3 separate regions of the Homo sapiens genome follow, and regions 1 and 2 are each linked to region 3. The links are contacts of gene promoters, found by promoter capture Hi-C in blood cells and fetal thymus (Javierre and others, 2016). All regions are on one chromosome and are shown on one strand. The core of a region is centred on a gene start or on the middle of the fragment in contact, and the rest is flanking DNA. Distances in the headings are between cores, read along the strand shown.

Region 1 (3,265 bases), core at 275-2,774, 1.4 Mb before region 3:
GGGAGACCGAGGCAGGAGGATCGCTTAAGCCCAGGCGTTCAAGACCAGCCTGGGCAACATAGTATAGTAAAACCCAGTCTCTACAAAAAGAATTTAAAAATTAGCCAGGCCAGATAGCCCAGCTACTTGGGACGCTGAAACAGGATTGCTTTGAGTCCAGCAGGTGGAGGCTGCAGTGAGCTATGACTGCACCACTGCACTCCAGCCTGGTCAACAGAGCGAGATCCTGTCTCAAAACAAAACAAAAAAACTGACAACCAATGAAACCTCATCTCTAAAATCTGGCTTCAGGTTAAGTGAGTAAAAAGAGGCTTTCTTGTGGCCAGGCACGGTGGCTTATGCCTGGTAATCCCAGCACTTTGGGAGGCCAAGGCGGGCGGATCACGAGGTCAGGAGTTCAAGACCAGCCTGGCCAACATAGTGAAACCCTGTTTCTACTAAAAATACAAAAAAATTAGCCAGGCATGGTGGTGGATGCCTGTAATCCCAGCTACTCGGGAGGCTGAGGCAGGAGAATCAACGTGAACCCAGGAGGCGGAGGTTGCAGTGAGCTGGTATCACGCCATTGCACTCCAACCCCGGGCAATAGTGCGAGACTCCGTCTCAAAAAAAAAAAAGGCTTTCATTTATCTTCTCAGCTCCTACAAGCCAATGAGTGGTAGGGTAATTTGCCGACCACAGTGGGAAGAACTAATTTAACACCAAGATTGTGATTCCCCTAGTGTAGATCCAGTATGAAAGAAGTGTCTCAGGCATGCTTCTGGTTCCTGAGTTAACTCTAGTGAATAAGGTGGGCTGTGCTGTCTCCCCACCTCCCCCAGGCATAGGGGCAGAACAGCTGCAGACCACCAGGACCCAGTGGGCCAAGTGAGGATGTGAGTCAAAGCCAGTGCTTATTAAACCACCTAATACTGTACTTTTCCCATCCAGGGGAGGCAGGAGAGGATTGAGGAGGCAAATCCCCGAGCCCAGAAGACTCCAGTCAGAAAACAAGATGGTCCCCATGGGTAGTGGCCAATCCCTCTGGCCTTTCAGAGCAGTGGCTTTGGCCTTGTCCGCTTAGGTAACAGGCTCTGCTGCTGGTAGTTGCTTAAGAGCACAGAGTAGCCGGGCGTGGTGGCTCACGCCTGTAATCCCAGCACTTTGGGAGGCCGAGGTGGGTGGATCACAAGGTCAGGAGATCGAGACCATCCTGGCTAACATGGTGCAATCCCGTCTCTACTAAAAATACAAAAAATTAGCCGAGCGTGGTGGTGGGTGCCTGTAGTCCCAGCTACTTGGGAGGCTGAGGCAGGAGAATGGTGTGAACCCAGGAGGCGGAGCTTGCCGAGAGCCAAGATCGCACCACTGCACTCCAGCCTGGGTGACACAGCGAGACTCCATCTCAAAAAAAAAACAAAAAAAAAAAAACACAGAGTGAACCAGTGAGAAGGTTAAATGGAGGAGAAAGCAAAGTTCTTAAGACAAAAAAAGTACCCCAACAAGGGCAGGAAACAAGCTAAATGACATAGGCACAGACAACTGGACAAACCCAGAACGTGGGGCCTTGAGACTGTCAAGTAGCCTGGTCTCAAGCCATTATCAGGCCCAGGCGTGGTGGCTCATGCCCATTAATTCTAACACTTTGGGAGGCCAAGGTGAGAGGATCACTTGAGGCCAGAAATTCAGGAACAGCCTAGACAACATACCCATCTTTACAAAAAATAAAAATAGATTTATTGGAAGGCCATGTTGAAAAAAAAAAAAGAAAAAAATTAGCCGGAAGTGGTAGTGCAGCCCTGTGGTCCCAGCTACTCGGGAGACTGAGTTGGGAGGACTGTTTGAGTCCATGAGTTGGAGGCTGCAGTGAGCTCTGATTGTCCAAAGCACTCCAACCAGGGCAACTGAGACCCTGTCTCTTAAAAAAAAAAAAAAATAGGCAAAGAAATCTAATATTGAAATGCAATTAATGAATTTTAATTGGAGTCTAGGTGGTGCGGGAGGGGGATTGGAAAAAGCTATCAAATGCATTCTGAGGACAATTTGGAGAAATTTGCATATGGGCTGATATTAGGGAATTATTAATTGGGTGATAACAGTATGGCGGTTATATTAGAGAATGTCCTTTTTTTTTTTTTTTTTTGAGACAGGGTCTCACGGTTGCCCAGGTTGGAGTGCAGTGGCGTGATGTCAGCTCACTGCAACCTCTGCCTCCTGGGTTTAAGCAATTCTTGTGTCTCAGCTTCCCAAGTAGCTGGGACTACAGGCACGAGCCACCACACCCAGTTAATTTTTTTGTATTTTTAGCAGAGACAGGGTTTCGCCATGTTGGCCAGGCTGGTCTCGAACTGCTGACCTCAGGTGATCCGCCCGCCTCGGCCTCCCAAAGTGGTGGGATTACAGGCGTGAGCCACTGCGCCTGGCCGAGAATGTCCTTTTTGTAAGGAGAAATATGAACATTGGGAGTAAAATGCCAACAGTGACTTTCAAGGTTCCACAACCCATAGAGGAATTTATCTGCCATATCAAGGAGTGGGTCTGTAGCCAATCACTGTAACGTTCTTTTCAATTTTTGTGTTTGGGATTCAAGTGCCCCAATACCACCTAACTACCCTTTAAATGGAATTAAATATTCTAATTCAAGATATCTGTTTTGGGACCACCAAATTTCAACTATCTATATTTAAAATCACAAGGCCAGAGTCACATCAGTGCTCAAAGGCAGCAAAAATCCTATTTCAAGCTCAACCAAATTAGAAGAATGGATGGCAGTAGTTACCTCTAAGAATGGCAATTAATGGGTGATCAGGTAATGGGCATGCTGGGAAGAGTTTCTGATAAACCAGGGGTCTGCAAACTACTGGCCAGAGGGTAAATATGTCAAGCATTGTGGGCTGTATACGGCCGCCTCACACTTTTGTAACGTGTGTGCACTGCCAATTCAAAAAATAAAAACCAGCTGGGCACAGTGGCTCATGTCTGTAATCCCAGCACTTTGGGAGGCTGAGATGGGAGGATTGCCTGAGGCCAGGAGTTCAAGACCAGCCTGGGCAGTATAGCAAGACCTCAATTCTACAAACAATCCAAAAATTAGCCAGGTGTGTGTGGTGGTGGTACGCACCTATGGTCCCGGCGACTCAGAAGGCTGAGATAGGAGGATCATTTGAGCCCAGGAGGTAGAAGCTGCAGTGAGTTGTGATCATGCCACTGCATTCCAGCCTGTGCAAGAGTGAGATTCTGTCTTTCCAAAAAAAAAAAAAAAAGGCCCCAAGTCATAGTGTTCCTC
Region 2 (3,677 bases), core at 837-3,336, 1.3 Mb before region 3:
CTTGGATAAATGCCATTTGCACACTCCCTACCAGCCCTTAGGTGCATTGCAGCCTCTGTGTCATTGTGTGTGACATCACTTGGTTGCTATGGATATAGGTGCGAGGTCACTCGCTTTCCTGTGGAACTAGAAATATGGAAAAGAAATATGGAAAAATTATAAGAGTCTAAATAACACGAACTGAAGATATTTCCAATACTGATACCTATTAGAAGTGCAACTTACATCATTTAAGCATTAAAACCTTGTAAGACAGCAACTGTGGCCACAGCAGTATTCCGAATTTCAGAATCAGTTCTCTTCAATAAGACAAAAACCTTTCTTTGTTAACATAGCTGCTTTAAATATAAAGGTATCAGCATTGTCCTCTTTTGAGAACCAGTAAATTTATTCAAGAATTGATCTGTAATATCAATAATGCTTCATTTAAAAGATGTAACACGCAAGGTACACTCCAGCATCCACTTCACAATGGAGATGAATTTGAAAATCTTTGTTACATAAGGCAGGAAATTAAATATTAAGATAGTGGGGGCCCGAAATCATTAGATTAATTTTCTACCTTTCATTTCATAATGCTCAATACTTCCCCCTCCTCTAATATCAAACTGGTTGACAGCCCATTAGATAAATGTGGTGTTACTGACAAAATGGTGCAATACAGGGATGAATCTGCAACCCAGACAAAATGCGACAACTGGCGATCGGTATTCTCTTTTCATCAGCATGAAGATGTACTCGCTTAAACAAAAAAAAGCCTCAGATGCATCTAACAACCAAAAATTTTTAAAAAGACTTTTTCCCCTTTAAAATAACTCCTCCCAGCCTCCACCCAGTCTAGGCTCTCTGCAATATGACAAATGCAGAATCTTCTGGAATGACTTGATACTGCCTCTCACCACGGCTTTGTTTGCACTATCAGATCAGACAGAATATTTTTTCCCCCAACTTATAGGAATTTCAACAGACGCGTGCCTGTATTCAAAAAAGAAACGGCATATGTCACACGAATCGAACCAGTCAGCTACATTCACCACCTTTTAATTTTACAGGCAATACCTACCCTTTTCAATACAAAAACATTAGGGAATAAAATGGAGATGACATGTTGAGAATGATCAATGAAAACGCTAGCGAGACAAACGTTCTCCCTTCCTAAAAGCCGGAGGACTTGCTTTGGGCGAATGGAGAAAGAAGAGCCTTTTGTTAAGAAAAACGTGAGCAAGGTGGTTTCGATTTTGCACCACGGAGCTCAGGTTTTCAAGAGACCCTATACAATGTTTCTGGGAAGATTCTCAGGGATGTGTCGGGACAGACAGTGGGGAAGATTCTGGGGGGGCTGGGGAGGTGGAAAACCGGGAGACCTGCTGAGTGAATGGGAAAGGCGCCGCCCAGACACCAGGGAGAGAAAGAGGAACCGCATCCATGCGGTCCCCCGCCCCCACGCCCAGGCTAGGAGGAGGGGGGAAGTGGGGCACAAAGGATGCGCACGCCTCCCCGCTCGGGTCCCCTGCACCCCTAGAGCCGCGGGGGCCGGAGACCCCGCTCCCAAGTCCAGCCCCGCGGGACCTCGCCCCGGCCCGCGCCCGCGCCGGGCCTGAATGGCAGCGCCGCGGGGCCACGGGGACTCCGAAAAGAGGCCGCGTCACAGCCCGGGTTCCCGTCGCCTCTCGGGACCCTCCCCAGCCCCCCTCAGTGAGCGAGACGGGGCGGTCAACCCGCCATCGCGACAGGGCGACGAAGCCCCGGGCCTTCCACGCCAAGGACCGCGTCTTCGGAGGGGCAGGGAGCGGCGGGGGAGGGGAGGAGACACTCACGTTCTTCATGGCCGCGGCCATGTCGTCGTAGCGCTCCGCCTGCTCGGCCAGCCGGGCTTTCTGCACCAGTTGCTCGCGGTCCACCATCTTCGCGGGGCTGGGTCTGGCCGGAGAAGGAGGAGGACACTGGGGCGGCCTGAAGGGCTTGGAGGGCGCGACTGGAGCCCAAGTGCCGGAGAGGACCGACCCACAGAGCGAGCAGCTGAGGCGGCGGCTGCGCGGAGGAGGCGGCTGGAGCTGCGACCGCGGGACCGGGCGCGAGGCGGCTGCGGCTGCTGTGCGTGCCACTGACGGACAACCCCCTGCGGCCCCGCCCACGCCGCATGACGAAGGCAGGCCCCGCCCACCCGTCCGCAAGCCCCGCCCATGCCCCGCCCGAGCCCGGCCGCGGCTAGAACTCCCCGCTCCCCAGCTGGGCTCACTGCGCGTCTTCCGGGCACCCCGTCCTTTCCCACTGCGCCCCCACTCTCCCCTTTTTTCACTTCACTCCCCAGTTCCCTCACCCCAGCTTCTCCAGTCGCCCCCTTACGCCTCCCCCTTGAGCCTCCCGCCCCGCCAGCCCTCGGACGCATGGGCCCCTGGGAGTTGTAGTGTAACCTGCAGTGCACTGAGGCGCTGAGGAGACCAAGGACAAAGGGGCGGTCAAGACTACAACTCCCAGCGGACATAGCGCGCAGGCGCAGGAGGACGGGGGGGGGTGCTTCGAATCCCGAGGCCGCTGGGGACCCCTGGCGGGGATCAGGGCTGCATCAGTCCCTGCGAGTGCTGATTCACCGCCCCGCCCCATATTCTCCGGGAAATTACGAGAGGAGGGGGCAGGGGCCTCAGTCCTAGACCCTGTTTCCGAGATCACGTAGCAGGTCGTGGTGGGGGAAGGACAGGAGGCGCGTCCATTGTAGATCCAGACTCTCAGTGTGGTGCCTGCCCGCGGGATGGCCGAATTAAGGGGCCAGACCCTGGGGACTGTCACCTCCACCCCCTACGAGCTTCCATTAAACCCCCCACCCCACCTTGAGGCTCTTGGGCCTGAATAGGTGAAAACATGGACGAACGACAAATACCGGCTGGCCACAGTGGTTGATTTCCAGAAAGGATGCAGCTGTCTGCTGGCTGACCCTGGAGAACCCCTTCTTCCTCTCCAGGGTGGAGTGCTAAAGATTGAGTTCAGCTACCAGGAGCCTACTCCACATCTAACTGGGCTGCGTCTAGGGCTTGGTTGTCCAGCCCTTCTCTCCCCTCCTAAGACATACATACCTACTGAGGTCACGCTGATATATTCTCGTTCATATTATTCCACATAGCTTGCAGATAGCATGGGTTTTTTTGCTTTGTTTTGCTTTTTTGTAGAGACGGGGGTCTAGCTTTGTTGCCCATGCTGGTCTCGAACTCCTGGGCTCAAGCGATCCTCACGCCTCGGCCTCCCAAGGTGCTGGGATTACAGATGTGAGCCACCATGCCTGCAGGCCTGATAGTTTTGACTGCACATTTTATTTACTTTATGTATTCAACAATTATCTATGAGAAGCTACTGTGTTCCAAGCCCTATTCTAAGCCACGAGGTACAGTAGTGAACAAAACAGACAAAAATCCCTGCCCAAGAAAATAGGTGAGATATGTACAGTATGCTAGAAGTCAGTAAGGAGTGAGTTTTGAGGTTGCAGTGAGCTGAGATTGCGCCACTGCACTCCAGTCTGGCGACAGAGCAAGACTCCGTTTCAAAAACAAATAATAAAATAAAAAGTTTTTTAAAGGCTGGGCACGGTGACTCACACCTGTAATCCCAGCACTTTGGGAGACCGAGGCGGGCGGATGACAAGGTCAGGAGATCGAGACCATCCTGGCCAACATGGTGAAACCCTG
Region 3 (3,453 bases), core at 284-2,783:
CCCCAAATTGCTTATTTTCGAAGCAAAAATCAAAGCACATGCTTACAAAACATCGAACACGCAGTGTGCTTACTAAACGCTAAAATACAGAAACCTAAAAAAACAATTCTTGCTTTTCAAACATCCATAAATAATCGCCAACGAATTTTTCCTGGCAAGTCTACGTTATAATAATAATAATATTATTATTATTATTATTATTTTTTGAGACGGAGTCTTGCCCTGTCGCCCAAGCTGGAGTGCAGTGGCGCAGTCTCGGCTCACTGCAACCTCCGCCTCCTGGGTTCAAGCGATTCTCCTGCCCCAGCCTCCCCAGTAGCTGGGATTACAGGTGCGCGCTTCCATGCCCAGCTAATTTTTGCATTTTTAGTAGAGACGGGGTTTCACCATGTTGGTCAGGCTGGTCTCGAACTTCTGACCTCGTGATCCGCCCGCCCCGGTCTCCCAAAGTGCTGGGATTACAGGTGTGAGCCACCGCGCCCGGCTATAATAATTATTATAAAATTCAAATCTTAAGGCCGCACATGGTGGCTCACGCCTGTAATCCCAGCACTTTGGGAAGCGGAGGTGGGCCGCTCACCTGAGATCAGGAGTTCGAGTCCAGCCTGGCCAACATGGTGAAACCCCGTCTCTAATAAACACAAAAATTAGCCAAGCATGGTGCCGGACGCCTGTAGTCCCTGTTACTGGGGAGGCTGAGGCAGGAGAATCGCTTGAATCTGGGAGGCGGAGGTTGCGGTGAGCCGAGATCGCGCCACGGCACTCCAGCCTCGACAACAGAGCAAAACTCCGTCCCAATAAATAAATAAATAAATAAAATAAAAATCTTAAGGGTCTAGTCACAACAGTTCAAAAGTCTCCAAAGGGAGACTCTCACCTTCAAGCTTGTAAGTAATACTAAAGTTCTAGATTTGCTGGAAGTTATCTCCTTCAATGGATTACAGCACATGATCTAGCAATAATAACGTACCTTGTCACCACATCGAATGATTTTGAACACTTCCCATCAATCGACTACCGACTAACAAAAAGAAGGACTTGATTCCCGGCAATTTTTTCTCTTCTGAACTGAGCATTCCCGAAATCCAGCTTGCTGAACGCGCAGATGCAGGGTGAGAGGCACCCCAGGAAAAATGGAAGGGAAAGTGGTACAAGTTAAAACAGTCTTCGTGGCCGCAGAGACGATCGCTACCTCGGCCATGGCAGATCTGGGGGTCCGGGGCGGGGGTTCTTCCCTGATACCCACCGGGCACGCGAGTTCACGCCAGCGACAGTGGAAAGCCCTCCCCTCGCAGCGCGCTCCGCCACTAGCCGCACCCCGCCGAGCTCTGACCTCCGAAGAGGGTCCCTGTGGCGATCCCGCCCCTTCGTCTGATGTTTGTGCCTTTGATTGGCTCTTAGGTGGATCCCTCAGCGTGGCTTGCCCAATGGAGCAATGCCGGCTGGTGGCCTGGCCGCTCCGCCCCTTCCCTACCCCTCGCGGAGGGCCCGCCCCCTGCCCCGCGCCGGCTAGCGGAGGAGAGTAAATACAACAGGAGCGCAAAATGGCGGAACCGCCGAGCCCCGTGCACTGTGTCGCTGCCGCGGCCCCCACCGCCACCGTCTCGGAGAAAGAACCGTTTGGCAAGCTGCAACTCTCCTCCCGGGACCCTCCGGGTTCTCTGTCCGCCAAGAAGGTCCGGACTGAGGAGAAGAAGGCACCGCGGAGAGTGAACGGAGAAGGGGGCAGCGGCGGGAACAGCAGGCAGCTGCAGCCGCCGGCAGCACCTTCGCCTCAGAGCTATGGCAGCCCCGCGTCTTGGAGCTTTGCCCCTCTGTCTGCTGCTCCCTCCCCGTCCTCTTCTCGGAGCAGTTTCTCTTTCTCCGCTGGCACGGCCGTTCCCTCCTCAGCCTCCGCTTCCTTGTCTCAGCCGGTGCCGCGCAAACTGCTGGTCCCTCCTACGCTGCTGCACGCTCAGCCTCACCATCTCCTCCTGCCCGCCGCCGCCGCCGCTGCCTCGGCTAACGCCAAGTCGCGCAGACCTAAGGAGAAGCGGGAGAAGGAGAGGAGGAGGCACGGTCTCGGTGGGGCCCGAGAGGCCGGCGGGGCCTCCCGGGAGGAGAACGGGGAGGTGAAGCCGCTGCCCCGAGGTGGGTGCCGTGCGGGGAGGGGGAGGGGAGGGCGCCGTGGGTCCCCGCCGCCCCCTGGCGCCCACGGGGCCCGGGAAGGGGGAGCGCGGCGGCCGCGTGCGCCGGCCTGGAGGGGCTGGGAGGCGTCCGGTTTTCAGCAGAGGATTTTGCAGTTCCCAAGGGGACAGGAAATGGAGCCTGTAATTTCGGTTGCAGAGAGGGGGATGGCCGACACTCTTATTTTCTGTATCGTTTCTTCCTCCCAGTTAGTGCGCTGCAGGATTTGTGAAAATCCATCTTGAGGACTCTCCTAGGTTTGTTTGGCTAGGGAGAGAGATGGAGGGAACGGGATGGGGGAAGGGTTTGGTTTTGTAAAAGATGCTTGATTGATTGTTAGACCACTTAGACGTGGTCGCGGGAATTCGTATTTGTGACACAGCGTTCAACCCCGGATAATCCTGTCAAAAAAGGGGTGTGGAGAGAGCACTGGCGTCAGCTGGAAGCTACCAGAGGCCTGAGCTTTTCATCCCTATTAGGGAAATGAGGTAGCGTGCAGGGCCCGAAGTGCGCTGTTTCGTAAGGTACCCTCCCTGCACCCTACTCTCCGCTGCGTATTCTTAAGTGTTTTGGGTGGTCCTGTTTGAAATACCACCCTTCTGAAAGAATTTTCAGCCATATTCTTTTTTTCCCTGCAGCAAATGATAAAACCAGGAGCTTTGACGATTTTTCGCCAGATCAAGCGGCTGCAGAATGTTTGAGCATTAGAAAAAGGCGAATTCTTAAGGGTTCTTGTCAGACAGGGTCAGTTTTGTTTTTAAATGTAGGCTAGTCGTATAATTTTTCAGGTGTTTCCACCACTTCAGCTACGGATACACAATGATCTGACAATAGTGCAACATACGGACTAGTTGAAAATCAAATCTTTATGTGATCGCAAGCTTAAAGCGCATAATCTTTATTATAAATGTGCACTGCTACACAGTGTTGTCAAATAACTCTTTTTGTTTTTTAGAAAAAGAAATGTCAAGCAGTTTCAGCATTGCTGATCTAACAGTAGCTCAGATCATGAAAAATTCTGTTTGGATTATAATGGTTTGTTTTCACAACTTAAAACATGCTGCATGTGCATGTAGCAATAGTGTCACTTCTTCCTTGATATTTTTTGCCTGTAGCAAAGCTTTAACATCTAAGCATAGCCATCAGGGACTCTGGTGCAATGTAAATATCTTTCAGCTTCTGGGAGTGTTGTTTCTAGGAAAGTGGTTTTGAGGATGGGATTTTGGTACTTTTAGTCAGGAATTCCAGGTGATTAGTATTTTAAAGCTATTTTGTTTTAACAATTTA

Evidence for each region. Contacts are between HindIII fragments. The CHiCAGO score rates a contact against its expected background, and 5 or more counts as called.
Region 1: a fragment that was not itself captured here is called in contact with the fragment with the promoter of RSBN1L in region 3 in 2 of 17 cell types (fetal thymus and neutrophils); the score reaches 5.1 in fetal thymus.
Region 2: a contact is called between the fragment with the promoter of YWHAG here and the fragment with the promoter of RSBN1L in region 3, in 4 of 17 cell types (total CD4 T cells, monocytes, naive CD8 T cells and 1 more). The highest score is 10.2, in total CD4 T cells.

The regions. Positions count from the first base shown.
Region 1 is chr7:76,319,337-76,322,601 of GRCh38, forward strand. It overlaps FPASL (fibroblast proliferation associated lncRNA), which reads left to right. Exons shown (of 2, transcript NR_186616.1): 1 at 1-1,111; 2 at 2,383-2,950. Among named protein-coding and RNA genes, the nearest start is that of FPASL, 2.7 kb to the left of the region's middle. The HindIII fragment of the contact is 7,938 bases long and covers 1-3,265 here.
Region 2 is chr7:76,356,905-76,360,581 of GRCh38, forward strand. It overlaps YWHAG (tyrosine 3-monooxygenase/tryptophan 5-monooxygenase activation protein gamma), which reads right to left and starts at 2,087. Exons shown (of 2, transcript NM_012479.4): 1 at 1,818-2,087. The coding sequence starts at 1,904. RefSeq lists silencers at 1,218-1,408, 1,492-1,691, 2,012-2,421 and an enhancer at 1,516-2,162. The HindIII fragment of the contact is 9,671 bases long and covers 1-3,677 here.
Region 3 is chr7:77,694,926-77,698,378 of GRCh38, forward strand. It overlaps RSBN1L (round spermatid basic protein 1 like), which reads left to right and starts at 1,534. Exons shown (of 8, transcript NM_198467.3): 1 at 1,534-2,130. The coding sequence starts at 1,545. It overlaps APTR (Alu-mediated CDKN1A/p21 transcriptional regulator), which reads right to left and starts at 1,340. Exons shown (of 2, transcript NR_134254.1): 1 at 971-1,340. RefSeq lists enhancers at 629-1,524, 1,525-2,420, 1,605-1,834 and silencers at 1,355-1,574, 2,045-2,364, 2,655-2,754. The HindIII fragment of the contact is 2,163 bases long and covers 883-3,045 here.